Regions from separate parts of the Homo sapiens genome. Here all the other regions are linked to region 2. The links are contacts of gene promoters, found by promoter capture Hi-C in blood cells and fetal thymus (Javierre and others, 2016). All regions are on one chromosome and are shown on one strand. Each heading gives the region's core, a stretch centred on a gene start or on the middle of the fragment in contact. The rest is flanking DNA. Distances are from core to core; before and after follow the strand shown.

The links. Contacts are between HindIII fragments. The CHiCAGO score rates a contact against its expected background, and 5 or more counts as called.
Region 1: a fragment that was not itself captured here is called in contact with the fragment with the promoter of SLC15A3 in region 2 in 8 of 17 cell types (total CD8 T cells, naive CD8 T cells, M0 macrophages and 5 more); the score reaches 10.3 in total CD8 T cells.
Region 3: a contact is called between a fragment that was not itself captured here and the fragment with the promoter of SLC15A3 in region 2, in 9 of 17 cell types (activated CD4 T cells, naive CD4 T cells, total CD4 T cells and 6 more). The highest score is 14.6, in activated CD4 T cells.
Region 4: a fragment that was not itself captured here is called in contact with the fragment with the promoter of SLC15A3 in region 2 in 1 of 17 cell types (non-activated CD4 T cells); the score reaches 5.7 in non-activated CD4 T cells.
Region 5: a fragment that was not itself captured here is called in contact with the fragment with the promoter of SLC15A3 in region 2 in 8 of 17 cell types (naive CD4 T cells, activated CD4 T cells, total CD4 T cells and 5 more); the score reaches 11.5 in naive CD4 T cells.

What each region holds. Positions count from the first base shown.
Region 1 is chr11:61,116,981-61,119,680 of GRCh38, forward strand. It overlaps CD5 (CD5 molecule), which reads left to right. Exons shown (of 11, transcript NM_014207.4): 3 at 1,195-1,500; 4 at 1,935-1,997; 5 at 2,254-2,595. Among named protein-coding and RNA genes, the nearest start is that of CD5, 16 kb to the left of the region's middle. The HindIII fragment of the contact is 5,023 bases long and covers 1-2,700 here.
Region 2 is chr11:60,950,902-60,953,601 of GRCh38, forward strand. SLC15A3 (solute carrier family 15 member 3) reads right to left here and starts at 1,275. Exons shown (of 8, transcript NM_016582.3): 1 at 93-1,275. The coding sequence starts at 650. RefSeq lists silencers at 558-717, 1,038-1,267 and an enhancer at 1,448-1,587. The HindIII fragment of the contact is 22,604 bases long and covers 1-2,700 here.
Region 3 is chr11:61,134,766-61,137,465 of GRCh38, forward strand. The region is part of intron 2 of VPS37C (VPS37C subunit of ESCRT-I); the gene reads right to left. Among named protein-coding and RNA genes, the nearest start is that of VPS37C, 25 kb to the right of the region's middle. RefSeq lists enhancers at 1-507, 508-1,023, 2,345-2,700. The HindIII fragment of the contact is 3,077 bases long and covers 1-2,700 here.
Region 4 is chr11:61,198,306-61,201,005 of GRCh38, forward strand. LOC124902678 (a long non-coding RNA gene) reads left to right here. Exons shown (of 4, transcript XR_007062691.1): 4 at 817-2,565. Among named protein-coding and RNA genes, the nearest start is that of PGA3, 3.9 kb to the right of the region's middle. The HindIII fragment of the contact is 4,291 bases long and covers 1-2,700 here.
Region 5 is chr11:61,154,168-61,156,867 of GRCh38, forward strand. The region is part of intron 1 of VPS37C (VPS37C subunit of ESCRT-I); the gene reads right to left. Among named protein-coding and RNA genes, the nearest start is that of VPS37C, 5.9 kb to the right of the region's middle. The HindIII fragment of the contact is 5,088 bases long and covers 1-2,700 here.

The DNA.
Region 1 (2,700 bases), core at 152-2,651, 170 kb after region 2:
ATTCCTAGGTATTTACCCAAGAGAAATGGAAACGCCCACACAAAGACCTGTATGTGAATGTTCACAGCAGCCTTATTCATAGTAGGCAAAACCCGGAAACAAATCAAATGGTGAATGGAAAACAAATTGGCATGTCCGTGTAGTGAACTATCATTCGGCAATAAAAAGGAATGAACTACTTATGCGTCCAGTGACATAGCTAAATCTCAAATACATGCTAAGCGAAAAAAGCCAAATCAAACAAAATAAAATCCATGCTGTATGAGTCCATGTCTATGACATTGTAGCACAGGCAAAACTCATCTTTTGTGACAAAAAGCAGATCAGTGTTTGCCTGAGGCTAGATTCAGGGAAATTAACTATAAAGGGGCCTTAGGGAACTTTCTAGATGATGGAAATGTTCCATATCTAGATTATGGTGGTGGTTACATGCATGTATACATTTGTCAAATTCCATCGAACAGTATCCTTAAAATGAGTGCATTTCACTGTATGTAAAATTACCTCAATAAAATTTTTTTTTTTTGAGATGGAATCTTGATCTGTTACCCAGGCTGGAGTGCAGTGGCGCGATCTTGGCTCACTGCAACCTCTGCCTCCCGGGTTCAAGCAATTCTCCTGCCTCAGCCTCCCGAGTAGCTAGGATTACAGGCGCCTGCCACCACACCCAGCTAATTTTTGGTATTTTTTCTTTTTTTAGTAGAGATGGGGTTTCACCATGTTGGCCAGGCTGGTCTCAAACTCCTGACCTCAGGTGATCTGCCCGCCTCAGCTTCCCAAAGTGCTGGGATTACAGGCATGAGCCACCACACCTGGCCTAAAATTAATTTTTAAAGATCTCTTAAAAAGCAGACACCAGCCCCAATCTCAGACCCCTTGAGACAGAATTTCCAGGACAGGGGCCATCCTGCTGGACAGTGGGTGCCGAGAACACCTTGCCCATTTATCTGAGCTCCCTTCTGACTCTGAAATCTGGAGCCCCACCCTCCTGGGTCTAGCTTCGGGGCTGCCTGGGTCAGGGTCCTCTGGGAAGCCCCTGCAGTGCCCCAGAAGGGACGAAGCTCACAAGGGGCAAGGCAGGCAGCCCACGGGGCAGGAGGGAGCTCAACTGGGCGTCCTAGGGAGAGGGCAGTGAGGGGTGCCAGTGGGGAACCCCTCCCAGCCTGACCCCCACCACACCTTTCTGACCCCCAGATTTCCAGGCAAGGCTCACCCGTTCCAACTCGAAGTGCCAGGGCCAGCTGGAGGTCTACCTCAAGGACGGATGGCACATGGTTTGCAGCCAGAGCTGGGGCCGGAGCTCCAAGCAGTGGGAGGACCCCAGTCAAGCGTCAAAAGTCTGCCAGCGGCTGAACTGTGGGGTGCCCTTAAGCCTTGGCCCCTTCCTTGTCACCTACACACCTCAGAGCTCAATCATCTGCTACGGACAACTGGGCTCCTTCTCCAACTGCAGCCACAGCAGAAATGACATGTGTCACTCTCTGGGCCTGACCTGCTTAGGTGGGTAACTAGCCAGCCACACGGGCACCCTGGGCCTGGGCGCCAGCCCCGAGGAGACTGCCCGAGGCCTGTGATCTAGGGTCTGAGCAGGCTGGTGGAAGGGGTGGGGGGACCCCAGTTTATAACCACTCCCCAAGACACATACCCAGGAGGGGGACTGGAAGGGGCCAGCACCCATCTGTAGGATGGCAATGGAGGACCTAGTTCTGCCAATCACTGACTTCATCGTCGCCTCTGAACCTCCATTCTCCCATCTGTGAAGTGGGGTGGTACTTCCCGCCTCGCAGGAGGCTTAGAGACAACGTGTGGGTCAAGTGGACCTGGTGTGCCAAGCGGCACTCATGCCAGGAGCTCCTGGTCCTCTCAAGGCTGCTGGCTGCCCCCGGCCCTCCCCACACCACCCATTCCTCCCTCACCAGAGTGTCTCATTGCAGAACCCCAGAAGACAACACCTCCAACGACAAGGCCCCCGCCCACCACAACTCCAGAGCCCACAGGTAAGAGGATTCTGAACCCCCCACAGGGAGTCAGAGCTAGCAAATAAAAACCCAGGATGCCCAGTTACATTGGAATTTCTGACAAAGGTGGAAATGTTTAGTATTGGTGTGTTCTACGCAATATTTGGGACCCCATCACCTCCCAAGGCTAAGCGTTAGTCAGTAGTTGTCCACAAGTTGGGGCCAAACAGCAAGGAGTGCCCAGGAAGCCCTCGGCGCTCAGGGTGGCTCCCCCTCCTGCTCTCTCCTCTCCTAGCTCCTCCCAGGCTGCAGCTGGTGGCACAGTCTGGCGGCCAGCACTGTGCCGGCGTGGTGGAGTTCTACAGCGGCAGCCTGGGGGGTACCATCAGCTATGAGGCCCAGGACAAGACCCAGGACCTGGAGAACTTCCTCTGCAACAACCTCCAGTGTGGCTCCTTCTTGAAGCATCTGCCAGAGACTGAGGCAGGCAGAGCCCAAGACCCAGGGGAGCCACGGGAACACCAGCCCTTGCCAATCCAATGGAAGATCCAGAACTCAAGCTGTACCTCCCTGGAGCATTGCTTCAGGAAAATCAAGCCCCAGAAAAGTGGCCGAGTTCTTGCCCTCCTTTGCTCAGGTAAGTGAGACCTGGCCAAGCCCCATGACACCTTCTGCTGCCCTAGGTGGGGTCACAGAGCATCCCAGAAGGTCAGGGAACATGTGTGCAGCACAGGGCACTATG
Region 2 (2,700 bases), core at 25-2,524:
GGGACCTGGTTTGTCCCAGGTCACGCTGGGGGCCAGCCCTCCTTCCCTCCACACCCGCCGGAGTATGCCGGGGCAGGCCTCCTGCCACTCACCTGGTCGGCACCGAAGGAGGTGAGGTTGCTCCGGACGGAGCTGGCGGCCAGGCCGAGTAGCAGCAGGCCCGCGTAGAGGACGGGCGCGCAGTAGGGGCTGGGCGAGGAGCGCGGGCAGCCGGCCGAGGGGCAGGCAGGTCCCAGCGGCGACGCGGGCATCTCTCCGCAGAAGGAGCTGCGGCCGTCGGGGAAGGCGGTGGCGGGCAGCAGGCCCGAGGCGGCCAGGTAGAGCAGCAGGCTGAGCGCGACCGCGCGGTAGCGGCCCAGGTACACGTCGGCCAGCCAGCCGCCCACGGGCGCCAGCAGGTAGGAGGCGCCCAGGAATACCAGCGCGGCGCGCGTCGCCTGCTCGCCGGTCCAGTTGAAGTTGGTGCTGTTGAGGTACAGCACGAGGTTGGCGGTGACGCCGAAGAAGGCGGCGCGCTCCAGCATCTCCACCAGCAGCACGGCCGCGCCCGCCGCCCGCCGCCACCGTCGAGGGCCCCGCGCACCGCGAGGCAGCAGCGGCTGGCGCTCCCCGGGCACGCGGGGCTGCTCCCGGGCGCGCGGCGCGGGCATCCTGGCTCCGGGCTGGGCCCCCCGCGGCTCTTCTCTCCTCTCCTCTCCCCGCCTCAGAGCCCTGCACTCCTGCCCCCGGGCCTCGGCCCTCTCCCCCACCCAACTGGCTGGCCCTCCTTTCTCACCGCTTTGGCCCACCCTTCCCTCCTGTCCCCTCTCCCTTTCTTGCCCTACCCTTCCTGTCCCTCCGCTCACTACCCGGACTCTACCACCTCCTCCCTAATTCTCAACTCCCCTCTCCCTTCCCCCACCCCTAAGGCTTCCTCCCCGCGCCTCTCCTGCAGCTGTTTCTCCCTAACTCTCCCCTCTCCTCCCTCCACCTTGACCCTTCCTCGCACTCTTGTTCACACTGCGACCCTCCCTGCTTCACTTCGCTGCCCCTCCGCCTCCCTTTCCCCTCCCCGTTTGTCGCCCCTTCCTGTTGTCCCCTCTCCTTATGACTCCTGGCCTGCCCTGGGCGTGGGGTGGGGGCTCCCTCTGCCCCAGTCACCCTGCTGCCCCTTGCCGTCTTCTCCACCTCCTCCCTGTCCCCCTCACCCCCACTGCCTACACTCCCCTCTCAGTCCCCTGCAGCCCTCCCCCCAGGCTCAGCCTCTGTCCCTCTCTCGGCTTCTTGAGAAACTCTGGGCTCCCCTCGCTTCCCCTTTCACAGGCCCTATCCGCAGTCCCCTGCCTGCATCACATGGCGCTACTGGGTGTTTAGGAGAAGTGAAAGCCTGGGTCACAGGGCTCCTGCCCGGTCAGCTTTCTAAAAACCTCCCTCCTTCTCTACCTCTGCCTCCTACCCCAAACCCCCGCTGCTGGCCTCCTTAGAGCCAAAAAATTCCAGGAGGAATTTTTTCTTTCAGTTTCATTTCTCGCCAGGATTCCACTTTTGCTTTACCCTCTTCCAATCAAACTCCACGCCTCCACCCGAGGCGCCACGGGTAGAAAGAAGTGGAAAGGCTACCTGCATCATTTGGTCACACTCAGCCATTTCACAGATGCAGAGACAGACCCAGTGGGGCTAGGGCAGGAAGGTGGAGAAAGATTGGTTCCTGGTAACTGAACTAGGGGTGAAGCCCTGCCCCGGGCTCCTGAGTGGCAGGGAAATTCACAGCGCAATTCGGATTGCACAGAGGCTGCTGTGAGGAAGGAAGTGGGGCACTTTCAACAAGCCTGCGGGCCATAGAGGACCACAAGTGAGTCGGGATTGAGAGGGACACCGACCTCAGACTAAATCAGAGTCAGCCTCAGAACTCCTAAGCACCAGCCCCACCCTGACCTAGGAGCCCGGGGGATCTGGCCTCTGCTCTCCTCTGATCTCATCTCAGCCCCATGTTCACTCAAGTCCAGCCAGCCGGCCTCCCAGGTTCCCCTTCCATGCTAAGCTCCTCCCTGCCTCAGGGCCTTTGTCTTTGCTGACCCCTCTGCCATAACTGCTCTCCCTCCATATCCTTGCATGGCTGGCTGCTTCTCTTTATTGAGGTTTCAGCATATATGTCTCCTTTGTAGGGACCTTCCCTGATTTTCCCATCTAAGTAGTTTCCTACTGGATTCTCAGCATCCCCCATCACATTGTCTTGTTTTAATGTCTTCAGAGCACATATTACTTGTTCAGTTAGCACCAGTAGAATAGGCCCTCCATCAGATCAGAGACCTTTTCTAACTCTTCACTGTTTTATTCTCAATGGCTTCCCAGTGCTTGGCAAATAGTAGGTGCTCAATAAGTATTGCCTGAATCAATGAATGGAAAGAGTGTCCCAAGGCAAAATTTGTAAGAATAATAATATCAGGAAAGCTAAAGCTAAATAAACTGAGTCTCACAAAAGCTATAGATACCAGCAAAAAAAGCACTATAGATACCAGCAAAAAAGCGAGGGATTTTTTGTTGTTGTTGTTTGTTTGTATGTTTGTTTTGAGACGAAGTCTCACTCTGTCGCCCAGGCTGCCATGCAGTGGCACAATCTCGGCTCACTGCAACCTCCACTTCCTGAGTTCAAGCAATTCTCCTGCCTCAGCCTTCTGAGTAGCTGGGATTACAAGCGCGTGCCATCACGCCTGGCTAATT
Region 3 (2,700 bases), core at 121-2,620, 180 kb after region 2:
TGCCACACATGTGTCCTGCAGAGAAGCTGCACAGATGAGCCAGAGGGGCCACCCTGGACATTCCCTGCTGCAAACACTTCCCCAAGCCAAGCGGCACTTTACCCCTCTGCCAGGCTCTTCGTCGCTGCCAGCCAGTGAGACAGAAGCCAAGGCACCCTTGCCAGCTGTTGTGATGTGACGCCCCATGCATCCGCCAAGGAGTCCTCTTCCTAAGAGGAGGGCTGAGGAGTCAGACCTGCATGCTGAGCCAGCAGTGACAGTACACTGTCAGCAGCATGGGGCACCAGAAGAGAGGCCTCGGCACCCGCCACAGGGCGCAGGGAACAGCTCAGCAAGACTGACTCTAAGTCAGGCCCTCACTGTGCAGCTTCTCTGTGCAGCTTCTCCACCATGGTCAGCATGTGACAGACCAAGCCAGACTGGCTCATGCCCCACGAGACATAGGAAGCCCGTGGGCATTCTGGAAGAGGCGGCCTCGGGGAAAGGCTACCCCTTCTGCTGTCCCAGCTACAGGGGCCGAGGTCCTGCACTCTGGGGCAGGCCCATTGCCTCTTCTTTGTGCTCCAGATTGGAAAGAGGGATACCACAGCTTCCTGCCCTCCCTGAGCCCTCCAGACAAGGCTGCCAGGGTTCAGGGATGTAGGGCCCAGGGTCTGTCCAGCCTAGAGCCCACGCTGCTGCCTTCTACAGACATGGTCTCATTCTGTCGTCCAGAATGAGTGCAATAGCATGACCATAGGTCACTGCAGCCTCAAACTCCTGAGCTCGAGCAATATTCCCTTCTCAGCCTTTCCAGCAGCTGGGACTACAGGCATGCACCACCACGCCTGGCTAAGTTCTTTTATTTTCTGTAGAGATGGGGTTTCCCTACGTTGCCCAGGCTGGCCTCAAACAATCCTCCCATCCCATCCTTCCAATAGCTGGGACTACAGGCACAAACCACCATACGTGACTCTCAATCTAATTTTTATTAGCCATGGAAACTTTACTTACATGGCTGACCCAGAGTGAAAGGCCTAAAGCCCTCCTGCTCACCCATCCCTTGCAGGGCCCCATGGATCCTCTGGCCTCCCTATAGGTCCACTGCCTTTTCCCTGCGTCTAAACCAACAAATCGACGCTGTATCATTTTCCCCTAAATCTTGCCCTACTTATTTCTGCTCCCTGTCTCCACAGCCTTCTTACATCTTTCTCCACGAAGTGGGTCAATGGGTAGAAACATATAGGTAGATAGAAGAAGTAAGTTCTAATGTTCAACAGCTGAGTAGGGTGACTATGGTCAGCAACAATGTATTGTATATTTCAAAGTAGCAAGAAGCGTAAAATGTTCCCAACACACAGAAACAACAAATACTCAAGGTGATGGAGACCCTAAATGCCCTGACCTTAATTACACATTTTTTTTTTTTTTTTTTTTTTGAGACAGAGTTTCGCTCTGTTGCCCAGGCTGGAGTGCAATGGCGCAATCTCGGCTCACTTCAACCTCTGCCTCCTGGGTTCAAGCGATTCTCCTGCCTCAGCCTCCCTTGCTCCCTTGTAGCTGGGACTACAGGCACGTGCCACCACGCCTGGCTAATTTTTGTATTTTTAGTAGAGATGGGGTTTCACCATGTTGGCTAGGCTGCTCTCGAACTCCTGACCTCAGGTCTTCCACCCACCTCGGCCTCCCAAAGTGCTGGGATTACAGGCATGAGCTACCGCGCCCAGCCTGATCATCACACATTCTATGCATGCAACAAAGATTCTCATCTTCCCCATAAATATGCAAAATATGCATCAATTTAGAAAATTGCATATCGATGCATATTAGGGGTTCAGTGTGAAGTCCTCCCAGTCACTGAAAAGAGGTAAGACTAAAAATAGGTAAATAAAAGATGTTTTCACATGTTTTGCTGCTTCTGAATTCAATCTGCCCTAGTATATTACTTTGGTGGAAATAAGGAGGAAGAATCTATACTCATACAGATATATAGCTAGAAAAGGAAGGAGTCGCTACTAACCTTTATAGATAATTATCAATTTTCTTTGAATCTACAGCAAAACTCAACAAGAAGTATCTAATAGTTCTTAAAAGTTGCTATGTAAAATTTAGAAATTAGCCAGGTGTGGTGGTGTGCACCTGTAGTCCCAGCTACTTGGGAGGCTGAGGTGGGAGGATTGTTTGAGTTCAGGAGGTGGAGGCTGCAGTGAGCCATGATGGCGCCATTGCACTCCAGCCTGGGTGACAAAGTAAGACCCTGCCTAAAAAAACAAAAATTAAAAAAAGTTGCAAAGTGGGAGATAAAACCATTTTGACTAACTTTCCTTAATAAGTTACGGTGTTTCCCTTCTATATCTGGCCCCCAACCCAAAGCAGCTCCCCTCCACACACCCCTCTATGCACACTCTTCTACACGGAGAGAGCCCCTGCCAACTCCCTTCTCTCCTAGCCGTGTCCATGTCCCGAACTAATAGAGAGCTCCTGTCTCTTCTCACAATCCCACTGTGACTCAATGACTGTCTTATAGCCCACGATAAAAAAGTTTGCCAATGGTCTGAAGTCTAAGTGGCTTGTCCTGCTTCATTTCTACCTGATCCACGAGTGTTTTTTCCCCTCAGAGAGTTCAGATCGATGGGACAGGTGTGGCTGCACACCACAAAATTCAAGTGCCTTCTGCCCAAGAGGTCGCTTCTGCTCACATTTTCCATGATTCTCTGCTTT
Region 4 (2,700 bases), core at 33-2,532, 250 kb after region 2:
CCTTGATTGAAAACTGCGAGGGGACCAGCTGCCCCAATGCCTATCAGACCAGCTCGATAACATTTATCATGCTTAAGTGCTCTGTCTCAGGCTTGCCGTGACTAGGTTCCTTAGATCTCATTCCATTGCTTGATTTGATTGGTTCATGGAATATTTATGAACACCTGTGCCCTTGGCAGGGGCTGCCCTGCATCGGAGACACTGCTACCAGTGCCCCTGAAAGCCAGGCAATACCATACTGAGTGCCAGGCAGGGCTAATGGCAAAGTAAACGTTGTTGTCTAATCTTTCAGCCGGGCCAGTCTAGTACAATGAGATGATGTGGCTTCCTTGCTGGCAGCCACGGATCAGCCCTGGCTGAAAATCAGATCTCATGGGAGCACGTAGTTGCAGAATCAGGATTCCCTTTTCCATCCCAAGGGTTCTTCTGGTCAAGGGGGCTGAGTGGAATGGCTTCTCCAAGTGCCCCTGGGATGGAGGCTGCAGCCATCATGGAATGTTCCTGTCACACACTAACCCATGAGCAGAAACCAGGTGGATGTACATAGTCACATAGTCTGGCCAGGGACCAGAGCCTCCTGAGACCCAGGTTCAGGTCCCATCTGTGTCATTACTTAGTTATGTGAACCTGCACTGATCACTTAACCCCTCTGAGCTATGTCCGTTGGGAAAAAGTGGGAGTAATAGTTTAATAATTCTTTTTAAAATAATTCAAAGCATTCAGAAAAGCACAAATAGGCACACAAATGTAAGCACTACTATGTTGAGGGAGGTTTGCAGATGACCTGACCAACAACGTCACCTTCTCCCTTTTCAGATCACTCATATTGCCTGAGCAGAAAACCACCTAGCAGAGCACTGAAATGGTCCCAAAAGAGGGAAGAGCAAGAGGCAACCAGGTGGATCTTTTTGGAGTTTTCAAGAGGTTTCCAGTCCTGCTTTCTATTGCTGATGACAAGTTAACACACACTGAATGACTTACAACAACTCACACTGACTCACTATCTCACTGTTTCTGTGGGTCAGGAATCCAGGCTCGGTACAGCTGAGGCCTCTGTCAGTCAGGGATGTCAGCCTGGTCTGTGGTCTCATCTGAGGCTTGACTAGAGAAGGATCTGCTTCCATGCTCACACGCTTGCTGGCAGGATTCAGTTACTTGTAGATTGTCACACTGAAGGCCTGAGTTCCTTGCTGGCTGTCAGCTGGAGGCCACCCTTGGGTCCTTCCCCTTGGGCCTCTTTATAGGGCAGCTTTCTTTATCAGAGCCAGCAAGAGGAAGAGTCTATACAGACAGTGTGCTAGCAAGACACAAGCTACAAGCCTGTATAATGTCATCGCAAAAGCAACATCCCATCTACTTTGCTGTATCCTGTTGGCTAGAAGCAAGTCCTGCCTACACAAAAGGGGAGGGGATTACGCAGGGATGTGAACACCAGCAGCATGAATAATTGGGGGCCATCCTACAGTCTCTCTGCCATACCCCTGAATTGGTGTCAGCAAGCATGCCAGCGTCCCTCAGGGTGCTAAAATCTCTAATGTGGAGAAACATTATCATCTTCACCAATCTGAGAGCTTCCCCTCAATGTGATCCAAATATCCATCCAGGTGGAAAGGAAGAGCCCCTTCCACACCAGCTTTCCCTTCAACTGACCACAAATGCGCCAAAGGCACGGCCTAGTCCTACCATGCTCAGGGATGTACCCTCTGCAGCTAGAGCATCCCTGCACGGTACACAGCAAGTGCACAATAAGGCATTTGAATGAATGTGTAAAGGGGCTTGCAGGTTTCTGCCTGGGGAATCTTCCTTCTGCTTCCCAAATATACTTCTCTGCTCAAAATTCCCATGTGGGCCCCAGACAAACTGTGCCCCCAAAATCAGTGCCCATCCTTGGGCTCCAAGCTCCCTCCCTTCCATCTGGTGGCAGCCTTGAGTGAGGGGATTCCATCTGGTGCCCCCAGAACTTAGGCAGCATCTTCAGGACCATCAGGTTCTTCACATGAGTGCTAGGATCAACCCATACTTAGGTGATGGATACTCCAAATACCCTGACTTCATCATTACTCTTTCTATGCCTGTAACAGAATATCACATGTACCCAAAAAAAATATGTAAAATATTATGTATCCATAAAGAGAGAGAGGGCCAGGTGCAGTGTGGTTCACTGTAATCCCAGCACTTTGAGAAGCTGAGGCAGGAAGATCGCTTGAGCCCAGGAGTTCGAAACCAGCCTGGGCCACATAGTGAAGCCCTGTCTCTACAGAAAATACAAAAGTTAGCTCGGTGTAGTGGCTCATGCCTTTCATCCCAGCTACTCAGAGCCTGAGGCCAGAGGACTAATTGAGCGTGGGAGGCTGAGGCTGCAGTAAGCCATGATCACCCCACTACGCTCTACCCTGAGTGACAGAATAAGACCCTGTCTCATAAAACAGAGAGAGAGGCTTGAGAGGGAGGAAAGAAAGAGGAAGAGAAGGAGGCACCAGAAGACATGAACGTGGAAAATACAAGGGCTAGTCATACTGGAGTGAGATTCACAGTTAAAAAAAAAGAAAAGAAAACAAAAGAAAATGGGCCCAGGATTCACATTTGGGGCACAAAGATGTCAACTAACAGGGGAGTCTGTAATGTCAATGTGTTTTCTACCAACCACCACTGTCCCTGAACTAATCCACACTGCCCACTCCTCAATACTCACCTGGAGGC
Region 5 (2,700 bases), core at 38-2,537, 200 kb after region 2:
TTCACAACATCTGATATACAATAAAAATTACCAGACATACAAAGAATCAAGAAAATAAGACTCATAATGAGGGAAGCAATAGAAACAGACCCAAAAAATACACAGATAATGGAATTAGTAGGCAAGGACATTAAAACAGTTCCTAAAACTATATTCCATATGTTCAAGAAGCTAAAAGAAAGATTAAGCATGTTAGAGACAGGGAAGATATTTAAAAGACCCAAATCAAACTTCTAGAGATGAAAACTACAATGTCTGTGATAAAAAGTATACTGAAAGGTAATATCAGCAGATTAGACAATGCAGAAGAGACCAGTGAATTTGAAGAAAGAGCAATAGAAACTAACCAGAACAAACCACAGAGAGAAAAGAAAAAGGGACTACTGGGAAAAATGAATGATCAGAGAGCTATGGAGCAACCTCTAGCACCCTTACATACATGTAACTGGAGTCCCCGAAAGAGAGGAAAGAGAAAAGGGAATAAAAAAAATATTTGCAGAGTTACTGACTGAAAAATTTCCAAATCTGATGAAAGCTATAAACCCACAAATCCAAAAAACTCAATGAACCCAAGCACAAAACACACAAAGAAAATTACACTACACAAAAGCACATCATCATTACATTGTTTAAACTCAGTTAGAAAAGCAGTTAGGGCCAGGCACAGTGGCTCACACCTGCAATCTCAGCACTTTGGAAGGCCGAGGTGGGAGGATCGCTTGAGCCCAGGAGTTTTCGACCACCCTGGGCAACATAGTGAGACCCTGTCTCTACAAAAAATAAAAAATTTGCCTGGCATGGTGGCACACACCTGTGGTCCCAACTACTTGGGAGGCTGAAGTGGGAGGATCCCTCGAGCCCAGAAGTTTGAAGCTGCAGTGAGCTATGATCACGCCACTGCACTCTGGCCTGGATGACAGAGTGAGACTCTGTCTCCAAAAAAAAAAAAAAGGCGGGGGGACAGGGAGAAAGAAAAGCAGTTATAAGGAGAAAAGATACATTACAAACAGAAGAGCAAAAAATAAAAATAAACAGACCAGGTGTGGTGGCTCATGCTTGTAATCTCATCACTTTGGGAAGCTGATGCCGTAGGATCACTTGAGGCCAGGAAGTCAAGACCAGCCTGAGCAACATAGCAAGACCCTATCTCTACAAAAATAAAGAATAATCATTAAAAAACAACTACCCAGGCATGGTGATACACACCTGTAGTCTTAGCTACTAGGGACCCTGAGGTGGGAGGATCACTTGAGCCCAGAAGTTTGAGGCCACAGTGAGCTATGATCACGCCACTGCACTCTGGCCTGGATGACAGAGTGAGATTCTGCCTCTTAAAAAGCAAGAAGAAAAAAGGAAAGAAAAATAGCAGACTACTGATATGAAACAATGCAAGCAAAAGACACTGGAACATCTTTAAAGCACTGAAAAAAAAAATAGTTAATCCAGAATTCTATACAGGGAAAATGCCTTCCAAAAACAAAGCCAAAATAAAGACTTCTCTAGACACCCAAAAGCTGAAAGAATCCATCACTAACAGACCAGCACCACAAGAAATGTTAAAAGGATGTCCTCAAGTCAGAAGGAACATGAAACAAGATAGAAATGTGGATCTACATGAAGGAATAAAGAGCACCAAAAATGTTAAACGAACAAGTAAATATAAAAGAACTTTACATTTTCATCTCCTTAAAAAATAATTGACTATTTAAAGCAAAAATAACAATGTGTTGTGGGATTTATGGCACGTGTAGAAGTAAAACAGGTGACAACAATACAAAGTCCAGGAGGAAGGAAATGAAAGTAAACTATTGCAAGATTCTTACACTAAAGTGGTATAATATCGCTTGAAGATAGGCTGTAGCAAATTAAAGATGCATACTATATACCTTAAAGCAACCACTAAAAAGTGTTCGAATTAATGAACCAACAAAGGAAACAAAGTGGAATCATAAAAATTATTCGATCCCAAAGAAGTCATAAAAAAGGAAAAAGGGAACAAAGCACATGGGACAAATTGAAAACAAATAGCAAGAAGGTAGATTTAAACTCAACCATATCAATAACCACATTAAATCTAAATAGTCTTAACACCCCAATTAAAATGCAGCTTGTGAGATTGGATTAAAAAGCAACCCCCGGCCAGGTGCAGTTGTTCACGCCTGTAAACCCAGCACTTTGGGAGGGGTGGGTAGATAACTTAAGGTCAGGAGTTCAAGACCAGCCTAGCCAACATGGTGAAATCCCGTCTCTACTAAAAATACCAAAAAATTAGCTGGGCATGGTAGGCACACGCCTGTAATCCCAGCTCTCAGGAAGCTGAGGCATGAGAATCATTTGAACCCAGGAGGAGGCAGTTGCAGTGAGTCAAGATCACACCACTGTACTCCAGCCTGGGCAACAGAAGGAGACTCTGTCTCAAAAAAAAACAAAAACAAAAACACCACCCATCTATATGCTGCCTACAAGAAGCCCACTTTCAATATAAAGACACAAATTGTTTAGAAGTAAAAAACTTTTTAAGAGATATACCGTAATTTTTAAATCCTCTATTTTTAAAAACTGTTTTATACGTAACAAAATTTACCATTTTAATCATTTTTAAGTATACAGTTCTTTCACATTAAGTACATTTACTTTGTCATACAACCATCACCACCATTCCTCTCCAGAAGATTTTCATCACCCTAAACTGAAATTCTG